Linked DNA regions of Homo sapiens: region 1 is linked to region 2. Evidence: promoter capture Hi-C in 16 types of primary human blood cells and fetal thymus (Javierre and others, 2016). All regions are on one chromosome and are shown on one strand. Each heading gives the region's core, a stretch centred on a gene start or on the middle of the fragment in contact. The rest is flanking DNA. Distances are from core to core; before and after follow the strand shown. Region 1 holds the start of UBE2O (ubiquitin conjugating enzyme E2 O). Region 2 holds the start of TRIM47 (tripartite motif containing 47).

Evidence for each region. The method cuts DNA at HindIII sites, captures the fragments that hold promoters and counts their contacts. A CHiCAGO score of 5 or more calls a contact.
Region 1: a contact is called between the fragment with the promoter of UBE2O here and the fragment with the promoter of TRIM47 in region 2, in 7 of 17 cell types (naive CD8 T cells, non-activated CD4 T cells, activated CD4 T cells and 4 more). The highest score is 9.3, in naive CD8 T cells.

The regions. Positions count from the first base shown.
Region 1 is chr17:76,450,888-76,454,649 of GRCh38, forward strand. It overlaps UBE2O (ubiquitin conjugating enzyme E2 O), which reads right to left and starts at 2,265. Exons shown (of 18, transcript NM_022066.4): 1 at 1,838-2,265. The coding sequence starts at 2,254. It also overlaps a transcript of AANAT not described here. RefSeq lists silencers at 1,617-1,816, 1,937-2,476, 2,271-2,439. The HindIII fragment of the contact is 7,923 bases long and covers 1-3,199 here.
Region 2 is chr17:75,877,331-75,880,907 of GRCh38, forward strand. It overlaps TRIM47 (tripartite motif containing 47), which reads right to left and starts at 1,251. Exons shown (of 6, transcript NM_033452.3): 1 at 544-1,251. The coding sequence starts at 1,218. It also overlaps a transcript of TRIM65 not described here. RefSeq lists enhancers at 1-625, 626-1,541 and silencers at 386-565, 576-955, 1,086-1,435. The HindIII fragment of the contact is 18,500 bases long and covers 1-3,577 here.

The DNA of each region.
Region 1 (3,762 bases), core at 1,015-3,514, 570 kb after region 2:
GGGATTACAGGCATGAGCTACCACACCCGGCCGTTGTTTTCGATTTAACTCCAAAATAGGTATTTCAAGTCAAACTCTGTATAATTACACATAGTGCAGGAGGCAAACGGAGCATAACTGCAAACAAAGTTAACCACCAAAGTCAAGACGGACGGGAACAACAACTGATAAACATAGCGGCTCCCAGTAGTGAGCTGGGCCTACCTCCCTGAGTCCTAGGGCAGGAGGCCACAACACAGAGGATGCTGCAGTCAAATGAGTTGCGTTCCAAAAATCACGAATCTCTCAAATAGATGGGTGGTGAAAAACATTCTTAAAAACTCACAGAAAGACACCAGCAATCATCTGGTGTCACACAGTATACAGCAATAACCCTCTTTTACTGACACAATACTGGGTAATTTTTAACAAGCATTCTGTTGCACAAAAGTAATATTTTCCAAATACTCTTGTAAATGGACTGATAATTTTCCTTCCAAGTCTCAGAGCTGTTGCCTGATTCACATTTCTCTGAGGGGAAGCAGGGTCCTGTGTGTGGATTTGTGTCTGTGGATGTATGTGCATCCCCAACAAAAAGACCCCGCTGGTATCAGCAGTCACTTCTGCCTCTAGGAAATGGATCATGTGCTCTTCTCTGGAGTGGGGCCTTTTTCCTTCTCAAGCCGTTGTCACAGACCCCGCTTTGTAGTTTGACATGAAACCCCGTTCCTCTGTAGTCTTTGTCTCCCACTGTGTGAGAAACCCAGATCAACTTCCAAAGTGCCCTCCCCTGAAATCAGACCTCTCAACCTCCCAAGGACCTAAAACAGCGTAGGCCTGATTCCTGCTTAGAAATGTTTTCTTGAAGGGGAGGGGAAGTAGGAGAGAAAGAAGGGGTGTGAGATACAGGGGGGTGTGTGTGTGTGTGTGTGTGTGTCAATTACTGATAGGAATTCACATTCTGGAAAACAAGCCACCAAACCAACCCGGGTTCAAGGTTTCGGGTTTATGATGACAAGCCTCTTTGTTTTGTAAAACTGCTATACTCACTAGCATCACCCCAAAAACCATACGGGAGTCAGATGTCTGCTTAACAGCTTCAGGTCAAGAAAAAACCTTCGGGTTTCCAAATTGGTGACTCCCCTCTACCCAGGGTTCTGGATTATTTTTTTCAAGGAGTCCATATGCACTTAGGAGTCATCAATCCCGGTCGCAGCTGTCAGAATCCTCCCCCCCAAGTACTATTCATACCGGGGCTCTGATTGCTAATGATTTTACTCACAAAGTTCCCTGCAGCAATTAAAAGGAGGCAGCAGGGTAAAACAAAAAGAGGCTGGGTGGCTTCACCATAATGCAGCCTGTAAGCTAGTGAACTTCTTGGGTTCGGCTGGGATTTTCACCTCTATCTTTGTTTTGGAATGCCCACAACCCCTCCCTGCACGGACCCGGCACGGCCTTCATTTCTGGATGCACAATGCAGTACCGAGCTCCTTGGGGGTCAGCAAAACGCCGCACTGGTGTAACGCCGAACGCGCCCCAGAACCTGAGTCCCCACGGGAGTCGGTCCACGTCTCTAAATCTCGAGGCCGACACCACAGCATAACATGTCTTAGAAGTCCCCTCAAGTCGGGAAGCCCAGGGCCCGCCCGGTCCCGGGCCAGCAGTGCCTGGCTGGCGTGTGCGCCCAGAGCTGCTGCAATGACTTTGCATGGAGTGTACCCTCCACTGGGGCTGTCCTCCCGCGTCGGCCACTGCAGTGGCACCGCTCCGGGCAGGGCCCTGCACGCCGTCCTTCCCTGGCCTCGGCCCGGCCGCCGACCCCCTGCCGCCCGCGCCGCCCAGCCCCCGCCCGCCGCACCTTGGTCTCCTTCACATGCTGCTTGACGCCCTCCGGGTACCACTGGACGCGCACGTAGCCGCGGCGCAGGGGGCTGGCCCGGCCCTCCTCGTGGCCCGCGCCCCCGGCCTCGGAGCACCCCGAGCTCCCGCGGCCCTCCTCCTCGCCCTCCGAGTCCGAGTCCTCGCCGTGGATGAGGCGCACCAGCCCGAAGTGCACGGAGCCACGGTAACGGCCCGACACCAGGTCGTGAGAAAACAGCAGGCGCTGCGAGCCGGCTTCTGGGCCGGAGTCCGAGGACGGCCCGGAGGCCGAGTCCGAGGCGGGCGCCGGCGCCGGGACGGGGGCTGCGGCTGGGGCCGGGACTGCCTCCGGGGCTGGAGCCGGGGCCTGGGCTGGAGCGGGAGCTGCGGGCGTGGGGGCTGCGGGATCCGCCATAACTGCTCTGCGCGAGTCTCGGGCGGCGGCGGCGACAGCGGCGGCGAACGAGGCGCGGGGAGGCGGGACCAGCGGGCGCCGGGGGCGGGGCCATAGCGCGCTGACGTGTCCCTGCGTGGCGCCGTCGTCAGGGAGCCGGGATGCAGTTGCTAGGAGCCACCGCCTCGTCGCTAGGGGACGCTGAAGATGCCGCGGGGGGCGGGGGCAGGATGGAATCCACTAAGAAGGGGCGAGACCAGTGAGGATTCAACTAAAGGGAGCGAGAAGGGGCGGGGACCCGGGAGGAGGAAGTGGAGTGGCCACCGAGGAAGAGGGGAGTGGTCGGGGTGGGGCACAGGATGGTGGAGAGACTGTCAACAACTTTTAATGAGCTCCCTTGGCGTCCTAGCCTAGCCCCCAGGCACTGGGAGCATTGCAGAAAGAGAAAGATACTGTCCCTGTCCTCTAGGTGTTTCCAGTCTAGTTGGGGAGACAAAACAAATACACATTAAATAGATAACAAACAACTCCAACTTGTAAGGCTATAATAGATACGTGTAGAGCATATGTATAATGCACTGTATTCAGGAATTCCAAGCAGTTCGAACGTCATGACCCCTCAGAAGTTGACCCAGAAGCTGGTGAAGGAGGCCCAGAGAAAGGTAACAAAAGGATCAGTGGTCCCAGTGGTTTGGCTACAAATCCATGCAGATAAATTCAAAGCTCCCTGAAGCCAAGAATGAATGGCAAGAGGTAGTATAGTAAGGTAGCTAAGAGTGGGGACCACGGATTCCAATTTTTGGCACTGCCACTTACTAATCTATAAAAATAGGCACACTGATTAACTTATTTTCATCTTAATTTGCTCATCTGTGAAATAGGGATGATAATAGCAATACTCATCTCATTGGGCAATTGGAGGATTAAGTGAAGTAGAACAGTGCCTGGCATTTAGCTCCTTCGATAAGCTTAACCATTGTTGTACTATTTCCAAACTCCCTGCCTAGACTAAATTCCAGACTGGCAGAACTGTTATGGTCTGCTCCATATTGTCATTTTAAAATATAAAAAGTAGGCCGGGCGCGGCAGCTCACACCTGTCATCCCAGTACTTTGGGAGGCTGAGGTGGGCGGATCACGAGGTCAAGAGATTGAGACCATCCTGGCCAACATGGCGAAACCCCATCTCTACTAAAAATACGGAAAAAAAAAAAAAATAGCTGGGCGTGGTGGCACATGGCTGTAGTCCCAGCTACTCAGGAGGCTGAGGCAGGCAAATCGCTTGAACCTGGGAGGCTGAGGTTGCAGTGAGCCCAGATCGCGCCACTGCACTCCACCCTGGGCAACAGAGCAAGACTCTGTCTCAAAAAAATAAATAAATAAAAATAAATAAAATATAAAAAGTAACTCTAGGGCCAGGCGTGGTGGCTCATGCCTGTAATCCCAGCACTTTGGGAGGCAGAAGCAGATGGATCACCTGATCACCTGAGGTCAGGAGTTCAAGACCGCCCTGGCCAACATGGCGAAATC
Region 2 (3,577 bases), core at 1-2,500:
CAGAGGCGCCAAGACCGGGCTGGAGGCCAAAGGAAACTGGGGGCGGGAGGTAGAGGCCGCGGCTCACATGCTCCCACCACTGGCCCCCGGAACAGCTGGACAGAGAATCTGTGTGCCCGGTCGCCCTCTGCCGCCCTCCTGCCGCCTGCCACACCCATCGAAAGCTGCTGCCTCAGCCCAGGGCAAATCTGAGCTGAGACCGGCGTGACCCTCCGGGCGGGAGCAGCAGCCACGCTACCGGAACCCCGCGGGCCTAACCCGGCTCCCTCCCGCCTACACCCCCATAGACCCCGGCCCGGCTTCAGGTCCCCTGCCCGCTCTTCGCGTCCTTGTCCTGTTCTCACGTCCCTCCTTCCTCCCTTCCCATCTCCATCACCGCCAGCAGATGACCTTGTCAAGGCTGGAAGGGACCGCAAAGATCCTCAGGTTAGAGGAGGAGATTAAGACCCAACCCGGGAAGACTGGGGGGTCCAAGGTCCTCGGCCCGCTCGCGCGCGGTCGGTCACCAGCCCCGGCTCACCCGAGTGTGCCCCCGGAGCCCACCTCCTGAAGCGCGCGCTCCTGCTCCAGCGGCACCAGCTCGTGGCCGCGGTGCTCCTGTGCGGCGCAGGCCTCGCACAGACACACGCGCTCCGCGCGGCAGTAGCGCTCGAGCGGCCGTAGGTGGCGCGGGCACAGGCTCTCCTCTAGCCGGCGCAGCGGCGGCACCAGGCGGTGTCCGCGGAGGGCGGGGCTGCGCTCGTGCGGGCCCAGGTGCGCGGGGCAAAAGGAGGCGAGGCAGGAGAGGCAGGACAGCGCGGCGGGCAGGGCCGCGCCCTCGGGGCACGCGTCGCAGCGCACTGGCTCTTCGCCCGCGGGCCACGGCTCGGGAGCGCAGGGGGCCGACGGCTCCGGGACACTGGGCAGCGCGCTGGGTGCCGAGGGCTCCGGGGCCAGGGCAGGGGCCGGGCCGGGGCCGGACCCGGGGCCCGAGCCCTGGCGGAGCTGCAGCAGCTCGGACAGCGTGTGGTTCTTGCGGAGCTGAAGGCCGTCGGGGAAGGGCTCCTGGCACAGCGGGCAGCGGGCCGCGCCTCCGGGTCCGCCGGCTCCACTCGCGCCACGATGCGGCCAGAGCGCGCCCAGGCAGGCGAGACAGAAGTTGTGGCCGCAGGGCAGCGTCACCGGCTCCCGGAGTGGCTCTAGGCAGATGGGGCAGCTGAAGGGTCCACTGCCGTCCATGACTCCGCGGCCGCCCAGGGCGCCGCCGATTGTGCTCCGGCCTGGGAGGGACCCGGGCCGTTCGCGCCGCGGCACCTCCCCCTGGGACCTAGGCCAGGGCTCCGGCCCCCGCCCGCCCCCAGCTCGGCCCGCCCCGCAGCACCGCCCGCCTGCGGGCCCGCGGACTCCCAGTCCCCGCCCAGACAACGCAGGGAGGCCTCCGAGCCCGCGCGACCCCCAGGGGAGTCCGCGTGGTCCTAAGGAAGGGCGCTGCTGAAAGGGTGTGAAACTGAGTGAGCGCGGGCGGAGAACGCGAGAGGTACAGTGGAAGGAATGGGAAGGACTCAGCCTCCATCCCTCTGGTCCTTCTGGGCCAGGCCAGCGCTCCGCAGGGGCTGGGCGCGTCTAGCTGTGTCATGCCTGCACCTTTGCGCTCGACCCCTCCCTGGCACCCTTAGCAAAGTTCCTGAGCTGCTGACTGCAGAGAAAAATAACTGCTGATGTACATATGTTTTTGCCCCTTAGCGACTCTTTTTTTTTTTTTTTTTGAGACAGAGTTCCTCTCTTGTCGCCCAGGCTGGAGTGCAGGGGCGCTATCTCGGCTCACTGCAACCTCCGCCTCCCGGATTCAAGTGATTCTCCTGCCTTAGCCTCCCAAGTAGCTGGAATTATAGGCGCTTGCCACCACACCAGGCAAATTTTTGTATTTTTTTGTAGAGACGGAGTTTCACCTTGTCCAGGCTGGTCTTGAACTCGTGACCTCAGGTGATCCACCTGCCTCGGCCTCCCAAAGTGCTGGGATTACAGGCGTGAGCCACAGCGCCCAGCTCCTTTAGCGACTCTTTACCCCAAGTAGGGAACTTGGACTTTTCTAGACCTGAAATGGGAAGTTGACGTCATTCCCTAAGTCCCTTGTCTGAGGAATGTAGTTCTGGCCCCTGGACACTGGGGACACCTGTGGTGGGGTTGGGGGTTCCCCAACTGGAAGTATTTAAAGCTCATCTAATTATGCACTTAAAGTGGTGCGTTTTATTGTATGAGTTATATCTCAATAATGTTAAGTTAAAACACTACACCAGAATGACAACAAAATAAGTAAAGTAGCACTGATTATAACCCAAAGTGTAAAATAAACATCTATGAGTCCATGCCGATATAAATAAATAATAAATTAACAAGCTGGGGAGAACAGACATATTTCGCATTGAAAATTCCAAATAATGTTTTTTTATTTTTATTTTTTTAGATGGAGTTTCGCTCTTGTCGCCCAGGCTGGAGTGCAGTGGCGCAATCTCAGCTCACTGCAACCTCTGTCTCCTGGGTTCAAGCGATTCTCCCTCCTCGGACTCTTGAGTAGCTGGGATTACAGGCGCCCGCCACCACATTTGGCTAATTTTTGTATTTTTAGTAGAGACGGGGTTTCACCATGTTGGCCAAGCTGGTCTCGAACTGCTGACTTCAGGTGATCCACCCGCCTCGGCCTCCCAAAGTGCTGGGATTACAGACATGAGCCACCGCACCCAGAGATATCTGTAATTTTGGTTAGTGACAAAGTCACAGGTAACTGCTCATACCACTCTGGTGTATTCTCTCCATTTGGAATAGAAAGAAATGCTGTGTTTCAGTAAGGTGCTGCAGCGTGGCTTCCTTCTGCAGGATCTGAGGGAGACTCTGTCCTGGGCGTCTGTCCCAGCTTCTGGTACTGGCTGGCAATTCTTGGCGTTCCTTGGCTTGTAGCTGTAAGATGCGCTCTAATATCAGTCTCTGTTGTCATTTGCCTTTTCTCTGTGTCTGTGTTCAAATGTCCTTTTTTTTTTTTTTTTTAGGGAGTCTTGCTCTGTTGCCCACTCAAACTGCTGGGCTCGAGTAATCTGCCTGCCTCAGCCTCCCAAAGTGCTAGGATTACAGGCGTGAGCCACTGTGCCCGGTGCCCATTTCCTCTTATCAGGACACCAGTTGTTGGATTAGGGCACGCTCTACTCCAGTATGCCCTCATCTTAACTCAGTCACATCTGAAAATACTCTATTTCCAAATAAGGTCACAGCCACAGGTCCTGGGGGTTAGGATCCGAATACGTCTTTTTCAGGGAACAGGATTCAACCTATAACAGTGCATAAGTAAGGAAATGTTGGAGAGAGGCCCAGGCCCAAATGTGCTAGAGGTCATGCATGTCCCCCGGTGTTCCTGGCCCTCTCTGTGTTCCAGGACCCTGGCCCTTCCCTAAACCTCAGCACACACTGCTGCTTGTCCCACACCCAAACCCTTGTCCACCTCTCCCACCGGGTCTGCATTCCTGCCTCTGTTTCCCCAGCTCTCTAGGCTTGGGGGGTGGGAAAATACCCTCAGGTCCCCTGAGACCAGACTAGAAATGTTCAGAAG